Regions from separate parts of the Homo sapiens genome. Here all the other regions are linked to region 1. The links are contacts of gene promoters, found by promoter capture Hi-C in blood cells and fetal thymus (Javierre and others, 2016). All regions are on one chromosome and are shown on one strand. The core of a region is centred on a gene start or on the middle of the fragment in contact, and the rest is flanking DNA. Distances in the headings are between cores, read along the strand shown. Region 1 holds the start of KLF9 (KLF transcription factor 9). Region 2 overlaps CEMIP2 (cell migration inducing hyaluronidase 2). Region 3 overlaps CEMIP2 (cell migration inducing hyaluronidase 2).

Region 1 (4,245 bases), core at 1,227-3,726:
ATTTGGGATCATTTATTTTGCCAACATTTAATTGGGACAACCACATGCTGGCAAAACAGCCCAAGCCGGTTTTAATCATAAAACTATTATAATACGCATTCCAACACCCCCAAGGAAACTTCACTGTTGAAAATAGAAGAAAAAAATCCTGACATAGAAATAATTATTTGCTGATATGTTATTTTATATATACGTTTTTAACATATAAACTTCATGGAGGACAGAGTCTCTTTTCATTTCTGTATTCCCCCATGCCTAGCTCATTGCCAGGAACATAAATATCTGGAGAATGAATGAGTGGAAAAGGAGAAAAAAGAGAAAGCATTCTACAGTTCTAGAATTGCTGGGTTTAAAAAGATATTCTAAATCAAGTCAAGCAGCAGTTATGTTTGTAAATGTGTGAGAAATTCATGTAGATGAAATCTCAGTTTTCTTTCATTACTTTCTTTTGTAACTCTGAAATGAGTGAGTTTGGAGAATTCAGTGTTTATGTCCAGTTCAAACAAAGTGAAATTAAAGGGAATTAAAGAAAAGCTGGCAAGGAGTAAGGAAGGGAAAAGTTTATATTTTTAAAAAACCTAAAGTGACTGATGTATTCAAATTCCTGGATTATATAATCTTCAAGGAAAGATACAGACTTTTCCTCTATTCTGGAATAATGATGATGGTGGTCCTAGGGCTGTCTATAGATGTCCAGGCCCGAGCAGTCTGTTTCACCAGTACAATCCCAGTTAAAATGCAAGTCTGAGGGGTTGTACAGGCCATGATCATAGAGATCCTGGAGAGATCCCGCTGGTATATGCACTGGGCCTTGAGGCAGGCAAAGGTGCAATTTCTAAGTGATCGTGTATCCTAGGGGACAAAATTTGTCCCAGAAAAATCATGAAGTAGGCAAACTCCCCTGGGCTTCAGTGAATTCTTTTCTAAAATTAAGAGATTAAGTTCTAAAAATGCAAGAACTCCAAGATGGCTTGGAGTTTTTTATACACTGTATACCTACCTTACAGGGATGCATGCAGGGTGCTTGGTACAGGGCCTGACACAGAGTAAGCCCTCCATGAAAGGGGTCGGTGATAATGATGCTGATGGTGATGATATTCTTGGTTGCCCAGTATCCCCTATCTACACCTTTCTTCCACCTGCAGTCACCTACTGCAATATCTTCCCTGTACCACTTTAATATTTTTGTTGTTGTTTTCTTTATTTTTTTAAGCTGTACACTTTTATTGAACTGGTCTTGTCAGGTTTGTTATTTTTTAATTAAAATCTATTATACTCTTACTTACCTGAGCCACCCTTAGTTATGATTTAAAAAAAAACAAAAAAAACAGGGCCTTGCTCTGTTGCCCAGGCTGGAGTAGTACAGTGGTGTAATCAGGGCTCACTGCAGCCTTGACCTAGGCTGACGCAGTCCTTCAGCCTCAGCCTCCTGAGTAGCTGGGACTACAGGTGCGAGCCACCACGCCTGGCTAACTTTTTTTTTATTATTATTATTTTTGATGTACCACTTTAAAAACAAAGTCAAAAGAAACTACTGTAGATCTCACATTGGTAGAGTCAATTTGAGACCCTTGCCTCGGAGACCAGAACCTGGTGTAACTTTCTCTTAACAAAGGTTAATAGCCAGTGGGGGGTCAGGGTTGGAACTCACCGAATCTGCATCACATAGAATCAGGTACCTCTCACATTCACGAAAGTGAATTATTTTTAATGAATTGTGCTGACAGTATGCCTCTTGCAAAAAGAACTAGCCCTAGATTCTTTTCTAGCTATCAAGATGGAAAACAACCACATCGTTAATTCAGACGGAGGGGTAAACCAAGTTAATCAGACTCCAAGACCCATACTAATTGTTGACCAAGTAATGCCACAGTATTCCATGGCTAAGGATTTCCAGCTTGTTCCAGTCCCTAAAAATCTGTTCTGCACAGTTAATATTTCACAAAACCAAAAGGGCTTAGTTGCAAGCACAAAGAGCTAGAAATCAGGAGACTTGTGGTTTCTATTGAGTTCTATCATTATCTGTCTAATAAGATAAATAAGTCACTTCTCTGTAACTCAGTTTCCACATTTGTGAAGTGAGGGAAGAGAAACATGTCCTAAAAACCATGCAGGGGCTCTGGAAAGAAAAAGAGCTAAGAATGGTGGGTTTTTTATAAAAGTTACACAAATGAATGGTTTTTGTCTCCGTTTTTCTGAAAGTGGGTTAAAAATAGCCTCCAAATAAAGCTAAAAGAATTTATTTAGACTAAATTGCACCAGAGAAGTAGAGGAATTAAGAGATATGACAAGCAAAGATGGGATGTTTCAATGGAAGAATCTCAGGCAGTAAAAAGGCTATGCTGTAAAACCAGAACTTTTGTTAGCACTGCATTTTTAAGATGAATTGGTCATAGTTAATGTATTGGATGGAAGAATTTTTAAACATCTGCCCCAAAGTATGCTGCATCCAAAAAATATATAACAAAACGAATTCTTACTCATTTGTGTTTATTCTTGGACTTATCCTGACATAATGGGGTTTTTTTAATTATAGATTCACACTGCATTTATTCATCACCCCTGTCCTCTCATCCATAACTCAAATTTACTACCAGCAACACAAAATACAAAGATGTGTCCAGTTTCACTACAGCTCTTCGCGTTTACAAGTGTCGAGCGCTTGCTTTCGGAACGCCCTTGTGATTGGCCGAGCCAATGCCAGTGACATCAACCAACTTACTTTTGATTGGAAGGCTGGTTGCTGGGACTGTAGCGTTTGCAGGAAGTCACTTAACTGTTTGGGAGCTGGAAAACCGAAGCTGAAGTTCTCTTTTGCCATAGGAACGAGCGCAACTGACTAGGAAAGATGTGTCCCAAAGCTCCGCAAGCTGGAACGTGAGCCAGGAGGCCCGGACCGGCCACGGGACCGCGAGGCACTCCGAAAGTGTGCGGCTGCCCCTTCCCTGCCTCCCAGCTGTTACCCTTTTAAATGTCAGTGTTCGAGGCTGTAGGGGTAGCACGAGGCAGCGAAACGGAACAGTCGGATTGGCCGCACGCCTCAGTTCTAGACGCACCTCTCCACCGAAGGCCGTTCTGACTGGCAGGGGGAGAAAGTAAACAGAGTTGAATCACCCTCCCCACTGGCCAATTGGAGGGGGTTTGGTTTGTGACGTGATGGGATTCTGCGAAATTGTTACTGAGCAAGAGAATGCCGGAACGGTGCGGACCGGCCGGAGCAGGGGTTCAGAAGCCGTCAGTGGACTCGGGAAAAAGTGTCTCTTAGACCTGGCGCTCGGCGGGACCCTCGCCACCCGCGTCGGGGTGATCGGGTGAATGTCCTGGGGCTTTGGCTCGACGGCGAGGCGGCCGAGGGCGTGCACCTCTCTTGCAGTTTCCTCTCCCAGCGCCTCGGGGGCGTTTTCAGTCGAATAAACTTGCGACCGCCACGTGTGGCATCTTTCCAAGGGAGCCGGCTCAGAGGGGCCGGCGCGCCCGTCGGGGGATCGCGGCCGGCGCGGGGCAGGGGCGGCGGCTAGAGGCGGCGGCGCGGCGGAGCCCGGGGCCGTGGATGCTGCGTGCGGAGGCGCTGCCGGTTACGTAAAGATGAGGGGCTGAGGTCGCCTCGGCGCTCCTGCGAGTCGGAAGCGCCCCGCGCCCCCGCCCCCTTGGCCGCCGCGCCGTGCCGCGCCGCGCCGCGCTCGTCGTCCGAGGCCAGGGCAGGGCGAGCCGAACCTCCGCAGCCACCGCCAAGTTTGTCCGCGCCGCCTGGGCTGCCGTCGCCCGCACCATGTCCGCGGCCGCCTACATGGACTTCGTGGCTGCCCAGTGTCTGGTTTCCATTTCGAACCGCGCTGCGGTGCCGGAGCATGGGGTCGCTCCGGACGCCGAGCGGCTGCGACTACCTGAGCGCGAGGTGACCAAGGAGCACGGTGACCCGGGGGACACCTGGAAGGATTACTGCACACTGGTCACCATCGCCAAGAGCTTGTTGGACCTGAACAAGTACCGACCCATCCAGACCCCCTCCGTGTGCAGCGACAGTCTGGAAAGTCCAGATGAGGATATGGGATCCGACAGCGACGTGACCACCGAATCTGGGTCGAGTCCTTCCCACAGCCCGGAGGAGAGACAGGATCCTGGCAGCGCGCCCAGCCCGCTCTCCCTCCTCCATCCTGGAGTGGCTGCGAAGGGGAAACACGCCTCCGAAAAGAGGCACAAGTGCCCCTACAGTGGCTGTGGGAAAGTCTATGGAAAATCCTCCCA
Region 2 (4,245 bases), core at 1,262-3,761, 1.3 Mb before region 1:
TATAATCATTGAAGTAGGCTCCAGATCTCAAAAGACTGGATTTCCTTCTTTATAGCTGGGTACAGTGCTTGTTATAAAACTATGGAGAATTTCAGCTAGATGTTGTATGGGAAGAGGGAGGTAGAAAAGTTAAGGAATCCTCATTATTAAGGCAAAACAAATTTAAGAGTTTTTTTGTTTCTTTGATGGGAAGAAAAGCTTAAAGATTGTTTTTAGTATAATAGTGATACTCATTGACTTATCAGAAGCATTAAATATCAACAGTTATGATACTGCTGTGAGAAAAACTAATTCCATGAAATAATTGCCAAGGATATAACTGGTGAGGCTAATTGTAGCTGTGGTTAATAAGAGAAAGCATAAACCTAGGGCATTGTGAGAGCTCAGAAACAGGAAGATGTTTGCATTAGTGTTATGCAAGTTCAAAATGAGGAATCATTTTTTTTTCTGTATAGAACAATATGTTTGTGTAGCACCCTACCTCTCTACTTTTTCTCTTGTTATTCCTAAACATGTACCTGCCACCTTAATGAAAGGAATTTCTTCCTATGGTTTTTCAAGCATATCTTGCTTATTCTTACCTTAGCTGAGTTTAAATAAAGCCACCTTGGAATTCTGAACAACCAAATGGACTACTTGGATCTCAAGGGATAATTGCATTACTAGTGTTCTCATGATCCTCTTATTTAAATACTGCCCATCCTTTGGTGTCCAGCTCTCAAGTCACCTGTTCATGAAGCTGCCTCAGTTACTCCAGCCCCATGCCTCCTTTGCCTGAGGTCTTTTGAACCTCGACTGACTACCATATTGTTCAGTGTTTCATTATTTCATACTTGGTGTTTTTTCCCTCCAAAGCTTGCATATAAACTCTGAGGAAATGTGAGCTGATTCTATGCTTTATAAATTTTAAAATATCTGGTACAGAGTGGATAAATTGATGCTCCACAAATACTTGGCCATAGGTTGATCAAAATTGAAGGCGTGATTTTTTTTCTCCCCTCTTCAAAATTATGGCGGACCTTAAAGTTTTCATACATTAAATAGCTATGGCTATTTTAATTAAATACTGTTATATTTTTGTTATTATAATACCTATTCAAGAGGCAAGTTCTAATTCCAGTAAAGGAACACTACAAGTCAATAATCTCATTTTCTAAAAGGGGAAACTTGCGTATCACTCAGCTTGCTAAGTAATCTTTGGTTTCTCTAACCTGTAATTTCCTCATCTCTGAAAATGAGAAGTTATGTCTTTAGCCACTTGCCTCTTTCATTTTGTTGGGAGAGTGCACATGGCTGAAGATAGTGATGTTTCTCAGTCTTGGAGAGAGGTGCTATCAGTACTTACTTCATCATTCACTGTGTGCAAGAAGGAACTTGTGAAGACCTGATCAATGTATTATTTAGCAATTTTCATTTTTGATTTACCAGGATGTTGTGAACACATTTCTTTTCTAAAACAGCTTTCTAGTGTGAATCCCAAGAGAATGTATAATTTTGCCTCTTACTATTGGTTTATTTCCAGAGTAGATGATTCAGGGAAACTTTTTTTTTTTTTTTTTTTTTTTGGTGAAGTTTGTCCTGAACTAGATGCTAGCAATTTAGTTTTGTGGTAAAACTTTAAAATGGAAATGTGATGACAAATTAAAGGGTAAGATGGTTCTCTGCTGGTGGGAAGGCGTGGGATTTCCATTCTAATGGCAGGAAATCAACATATGTTAGCACATTTTTTGCAGATCTGCAGTAAATAATGGTAGTGCTTAGATTCGGCTATATTATTCCTGCATTTTAATGGGTTGGATGGAATATCAATGTGTTTATAGAAAATTGCCCAGATCAAAATCCTCGTCTCAGGAATTGGGATCCAGGACAAGATTCTGCAAAGCAAGTTGTTATCAAGGAGGGAGATATGCTCCGTCTGACCTCAGACGCCACCGTGCATTCTATAGTCATTCAGGATGGAGGTAGGTAATGGTTCCTGCCTATGGGAACTGCAAGGTTGCTCTTTAATGTGGGGGATATTTGATGTTCCTTATGTAGAAGACTATTTTTAGGCAGAATAGGCTTTAGTTTGTGGTGTCACTCTAACCATGGAGATTTGGAAAGATCATGAGATAAAACCAGAGAATTTATCCAGAGATAAAAAACATAGAATTTAAGAGCTTAGACCTTAGGTATCACTCAAATCAAGACCCCTGATTTATAGACAAGGAAACAGTTCCAGAGAGGTGATCTCTCAGAGCTAAATTTTTGTCACAATTCTGAGAGTGATTTTGTCACAATTCTGAGAGTTAACATGAGTAAACATATACAAAAATAAGATTCAGATTTGTAGACTCTTAGATATTTTTAAGAGAAATGATTTAACCTCTAAAGTGAGTAGGTTGAAATTCACAGTCATGGGCATTGAGAGTATATTAAGATATGAACTCTTCATTTTTCCCTTTAGTTTTCTAAGCAGATTCTTAGCGAATTCTTTTTTCCGACCTAATTGCGGAAGTGTATTTAACTTAAGGTGAAATCTATTTCCTTGTATCTCAGAAAGATGATTTAGAAGTTGGCTTACAGGGTGGTGTTCCCTGCAGGACTGCTTGTATTTGGGGACAATAAAGATGGATCCAGAAATATTACTTTGAGGACTCATTACATCCTGATCCAGGATGGTGGGGCGCTTCATATTGGAGCAGAAAAATGCCGCTATAAATCCAAAGCGACAATTACCTTGTATGGCAAGTCAGATGAAGGTGAAAGTATGCCAACATTTGGCAAAAAGTTTATTGGTGTGGAAGCTGGCGGGACACTGGAGTTACATGGGGCACGGAAGGCATCGTGGACGTTGTTGGCAAGGACCCTGAATTCCTCAGGCTTGCCCTTTGGGTCCTATACCTTTGAAAAGGACTTTTCCCGGGGCCTCAATGTGAGGGTCATTGACCAAGACACGGCCAAAATTTTGGAAAGTGAGAGATTTGATACCCATGAATACCGCAATGAGAGCAGGCGGCTTCAGGAGTTTCTGAGATTCCAGGATCCAGGTCGGATTGTTGCCATAGCTGTCGGGGATTCAGCCGCTAAAAGTCTCTTACAAGGAACCATCCAGATGATCCAGGAACGGTTGGGAAGTGAACTGATCCAAGGACTGGGCTACAGGTAGGCATACCTTCTTCCCAGATCCCTATCAGAGTCCGTGTCTGTGTGAGAGGAGAGTGAGGGTGGGGAAAGGAGCCACAGCCACAGCATGACTCAGGCATCAGAAGGGCCACTCTACCATTTGCATGTCTGGTAGCTTTGAGACATGGGGCTGGAGGATAGGACACCACATACAAAAGCTATTTTCATTGGCTTTGGTTTACAAAGCCCTTTGTGAACTGGAGTGCCAGACTTGTGAAAAGTTGAGAGCAGAAGTGTGGTACTGAAAAACAGTCAGGCAGTTTAAGGACAATTTGCCTCTGAAGATACTTCTTCCTTTCGTTACCTTCTGAAGATCATATGAAACTCAGGCTAATTGAGGCAACTTAATGAGTTTAAAGGTTAGGGCAGAATTTCATGCTAAGTTCTAAACCTGTCTTAAAAGGCTGAGGGGGTAGAATATGCAGTTTTTCTTTTTCTTTTTCTTTTTTCGGACTCCTTTGCAGGCTGATTGGAATCTGCATGTTTGATTGGCACAGGTCTATGGACCCCTGGCATATATGAGGAAGGAAAAAGTTAAAGGGCTAGGAAATTCATCCAGATAGTAGAATTCATTTCTGCTATTTATGGTTCTTGTACCCTATTCCTTTTATTTTTATTTTTAGTGACAGGGTCTTGCCCCGTTGCCCGAGCTGGAGTGCAGTGGTACAATCGTATCTCACTGCAGCCTCAACCTCCCAGGCTCCAGTGATACTTCCACCTCAGCCTCCCAAGTAGCTGAGACTACAAACAGTTGCTACCACACCTGTCTAATTTTTAAACTTTTTGTAGTTGAGGGGGTCTCACTTTGTTGCCCAGGCTGGTCTAAACTTCTGTGCTCAAGTGATCCTCCTGCCTCACCCTCCCAAAACATCGGCTTCATAGGCATGAACCACCACACCCAGCCTTCTTGTGCCATATTCTAATTAACTGTGATTTCCTAACGCAGTTCTGAGTCTAGGGGAAGTAGCCGACCTAACATTTCATTTAAAAGACAGAAGCTTTTAATTCTGCTGAATGCTTTTAGTAAAGTCAGGGAATATCTGTGGTGGAAAAAGTAAGAGTACCTCAAAACCGACATGC
Region 3 (4,245 bases), core at 622-3,121, 1.3 Mb before region 1:
ATGAGCCACTGCACCCGGCTGGCCAAGAACATTTCTGATTAAAGTTTTTGAAAGAGTGAGTTTGTATGTGTACACACACACACACACACACACACACACACACAGAAAATAAATACATTATTAAATATATTGCTAAAGGATATGCAACAGAAGTTGAATAAAAGGAGAGACTCTGTTTCTGAATGGAAAATTAATAAATGTTAATTTCATGGACCAGTTTCATGGAAGATAATTTTTCCATGGACTGGAGGTGGAGGGGGATGGTTTCAGGATGATTCAAGTGCATTACATTTACTTAGTTAAAATATAAATTTGACACATTTCCATTAGTGTCCCAAAAGGTACTTTTCTACTGTACTTGACAGTTGATACTGTAGTTCATCTGGAAGAATAAATGAGAAAGTAGTAAAATATAAACAAATTACAGTAATACAAGGGCTTGTTTTTATCAAATATTAAAATGGACCGTGAAGCCATAGGCCAGCATAGTTTTGGCAGAGAAGAGCAAGATCAGAGAAGAACGGAGAATCCACAGATAGGTCCAAGTATGTATGTTGGCTTACTATGTGACAAAAATGGTAATTCAAACCATGGAAAACACATTTAGTCGTTTATTTATTTTTAGAATTGTGTTTATCCATTTATTTAATAAATAGATAATAGAACTTAAATAAATAGAGTATTTGAAACAAAACAAAACCATTCTCCCATGTTACAGTAGACTTACTCCCTGATAGACAATGGAGAAGGAAGGGTGAGGGGTGGATGACAGGAAATTACTGAATAGGCACAGTGTACATTATTTGGGTGATGGATACCCTAAGTGCCCTGACTTCACCACTATGCAATCCTATGTATGTAATGAAATTGCACTTGTGCCTCACAAATTTATACAAATTATAAACAACAACAACAACAATAGACTATTCCCTAAAAGAGCTGTGCCCCAGACCATCCACTAGGTCAGCAGTCCCCAGCCTTTTTGACATCAGGGACTGGTTTCATGGAAGATAATTTTTCCATGGACTGGAGGTGAAGGGGGATGGTTTCAGGATGATTGAAGCACATTACATTTACTGTGCACTTTTTTTCTATTATTATTACATTGCAATATATAATGAAATAATTACACAGCTCACCATAATGTAAAGTCAGTGGGAGCCCTGAGCTTGTTTTCCTGCAACTAGATGGTCCCATCTGGGGGTGATGATCAACAGATCATTGGGCATTAGATTCTCAGGAGCACACAACCTAGATCCCTCACATGTGCAGTTCCCAATAGGGTTCTGCTCCTATGAGAGTTGAATGCCACAGCTGACCTGACAGGAGGCGGAGCTCAGGCTGTAATGCAAGTGTTGTGGGGTGGCTGTAAATACAGATGAAGCTTCGCTCGCCTGCTCACCTCCTGCTGTGCAACTTGGTTCCTAATCTACTGGTACCCATCCATGGCCCAGGGGTTGGGAAGCCCTGCACTAGGTGAACGTACGTAAATGATTTGGTTTATGTATGCGTTACCCCTTGTAAGAGCAACGTGTGAAGCCCATGGTGGTGGGGTGGAAGAGTGGGAATTGGATGGAAAATCATCTAGACTTTTTTCTTTTTGGAGTTCTGCTTTTATCTAATATTTCTATTCAGCAGTCAGTTCAGAAAGATACTCAGTAGAAAGATACTCATGCTGAAGGATTGAAATTGGCTCTGACTTTCTAAATTTCACATACAGGTCCATTGTTCTGTTGAGCACAAGAGGAGAAATAAAGCAGTTAAACATTTCACACTTACTAGTACCTCTGGGATTAGCCAAACCAGCTCATCTTTATGACAAAGGTTTGTATTTGTATTATTTCATGAAGTTCTTACAGGGCCAGCAACATAGGTAATTTTATGGTGCAATTCAGCTACCAGACCATTTTCATGAGCTTGTTTGCTGGAGTGGGTATCATTAAGATGATTTCTAAATAAGGGCACAATGTGAGAGGAAGTGTGTTGGGATGTGGTTTGTTATCTGGGGCAAAAGGTGGGTGGTGAGAGTTCATTTGCTGATGTAAGGAAGTGCAGAGTTTTTTAATAGCTGCCTTTGTTTTGCTCACCTCCGACTCACCTCCTATATTCTCTTGCTGGAATGTAGCTATAAAAATTGATTTTTTTTCTTTTTCTTTTTTTTTTTTTTTTTTAGGGAGTACCATATTTTTGGGATTCAGTGGAAACTTTAAACCATCATGGACTAAGCTATTTACCAGTCCTGCTGGACAGGGCCTTGGGGTGCTTGAACAATTCATACCTTTGCAGCTGGACGAATATGGTTGTCCCAGAGCCACCACTGTCCGCAGAAGAGACCTGGAACTGCTAAAGCAAGCTTCAAAAGCACATTAGAGACTAACTGTAACTTAAGTGCTGGGGGAAAAAAAATGTGAACTAACTTATTTAATTTATGGCATTTTAAAATGACACTGTTAACCCAACGGAACCATTTTCCAGTTTGATACAGAATGGGGAGAAAAGAAAGCGTTTGAAATTATTGCTTGGATACCAGCTTCATGCACCTTCTAGTTGTACAAAATGTTAAAGACGTTGTTTGTATTTGTAAGGCTGGTGTATTCAGAGAGCAGATCTCTTATTCCTCACTTTCCACCCCCGTATTTTGTAATGACCATGAGCAATGTTTTTACTTTTTGTATAATGGGGTGGGGTGGAGTGGGGGCTTCTGAGAGTCAGCCTGAGGTCTTTAGAGGACCAGCTATTGTAGCACCTTGGATACTTGAAGTTTAATGCTCAGTTGGGTCGGGTGGCAGTTGACTTGGTGGCTGGCATGTTCAGCAGTGCCTGGGGCCCTGTTTCTGGGCAGCCTTTGAGGATTTTCTATGATATTGAATGACAGTTTTAAGTGGCAACTCAGGCCCAGCTCATGCCCTTTTTTGCCTGGACATGTGCTATTTTTATTCACTTATATATCAATTACTTGTAAGGGTTAAACTTTCAAACAGGAAGTATATTGGGACAAAAGGGCTCTTGGGGATTAGATATCCCTTTAATCTGTGACCATTGGGCAAAAAATTTTCCTGCAGCAAAAGTCTGAGGCTGTTGGGACCATTTTTGCAGCTTTAATCCTTAGCCTCTTTTGACTGTATATTTGTGTTTAAAATGCAGAGCTCAACTGAATATTTCCTTTTTTGTTTTGTTTTGTTTTGTTTTAAGAAGTAGGTTGTTTTCCTGAACCGTAAACTTGTATCATTTTAACTTGCACAAAGGAAGTCTGTTCTTGGTATTGCTCTTGCACTTGGGTTTTTTGTTATTGTTTTGTGTGGATTTTTTAAAGCTTTTCTGTTCACCCTCCTGCCAGGAAAATCCCAGAAAGCTTAATGATACCCCAAAATGATTACACCCAGGGAGGAAAAAAAGGAGCGCTTTCTAGGGTCAGAATCGTGGAGAGAATACTCAGAAATGAACCTCTTTAAAGCCTTGCAGGAATGAGTCACTCTTACTTAATGAAATGTTAAAGCCAATTAAAAAGCATGCTGTGATGCCCAGCTTCCCTTTCCACAGGGTGCATGCGTCTCCTGCTGGTGAATCACATGCGGCAAGAGGCAACTGGCTCCACAGCCTGGGATGCTGCCGTACCAAGAGGAAAGAAGCAGCAAAATGCCTTTACGTTGTTCTAAACCCCCGACGCATAAAGTGTAGAGGAGGGATGGCCAAGGGTGGGTGGTAGAAAGTGTGTTCAGGCTGACACTGGCAATGAGTACAGATAATTTCACTTTCCTCTTCTAGGGGCAAAGGCTGATGGCCTCTACCTTTGTATCCAGGAGAAACTGCAGAGCAGCCCTGTGACTTTACAAAATATGCTACCTCAAAGTGCTACCGATAAACCTTTCTAATTGTAAGTGCCCTTACTAAGGGCACATGTCTTAATCAAAGTTAGTTTTTTGTTTTCTGGTTTGTTTTTTTTTTTTGTATATTGATGAATGAGATCTTACCTATTAAATATATTATTGGATTATGGTTCCTGAAGGTCATTAGAGTGTGTGTGTGTGTGTGTGTGTGTGTGTGTGTTTTATGACTTAAATATCTTTACGTGTGTTTTTTAGAGCTTGGTTCTTTAAAGATTTGGAGAAGATATGTAAATTACCAAGGCACTTGGTTTTTCTGTTTTATATACTAATAATCAGGGCCTAAGTTAAATAAAAATATGTGTGCATGTATTTTATATATGTGTGTATGTGAATTTATTTATTATTTATTTTATTATTA

What was found. The method cuts DNA at HindIII sites, captures the fragments that hold promoters and counts their contacts. A CHiCAGO score of 5 or more calls a contact.
Region 2: a contact is called between a fragment that was not itself captured here and the fragment with the promoter of KLF9 in region 1, in 1 of 17 cell types (total CD4 T cells). The highest score is 5.1, in total CD4 T cells.
Region 3: a contact is called between a fragment that was not itself captured here and the fragment with the promoter of KLF9 in region 1, in 1 of 17 cell types (naive CD4 T cells). The highest score is 5.1, in naive CD4 T cells.

Annotation. Positions count from the first base shown.
Region 1 is chr9:70,412,888-70,417,132 of GRCh38, reverse strand. KLF9 (KLF transcription factor 9) reads left to right here and starts at 2,476. Exons shown (of 2, transcript NM_001206.4): 1 at 2,476-4,245. The coding sequence starts at 3,770. KLF9-DT (KLF9 divergent transcript) reads right to left here and starts at 2,943. Exons shown (of 4, transcript XR_001746710.3): 1 at 2,723-2,943. RefSeq lists enhancers at 2,764-2,893, 3,234-3,313, 3,142-3,995, a promoter at 2,625-3,427 and a silencer at 3,604-3,783. The HindIII fragment of the contact is 11,812 bases long and covers 1-4,245 here.
Region 2 is chr9:71,743,917-71,748,161 of GRCh38, reverse strand. CEMIP2 (cell migration inducing hyaluronidase 2) reads left to right here. Exons shown (of 24, transcript NM_013390.3): 3 at 1,821-1,961; 4 at 2,583-3,144. Among named protein-coding and RNA genes, the nearest start is that of CEMIP2, 22 kb to the left of the region's middle. RefSeq lists an enhancer at 3,464-4,245. The HindIII fragment of the contact is 3,308 bases long and covers 858-4,165 here.
Region 3 is chr9:71,683,322-71,687,566 of GRCh38, reverse strand. It overlaps CEMIP2 (cell migration inducing hyaluronidase 2), which reads left to right. Exons shown (of 24, transcript NM_013390.3): 23 at 1,721-1,824; 24 at 2,174-4,201. The coding sequence ends at 2,370. Among named protein-coding and RNA genes, the nearest start is that of CEMIP2, 83 kb to the left of the region's middle. The HindIII fragment of the contact is 969 bases long and covers 1,387-2,355 here.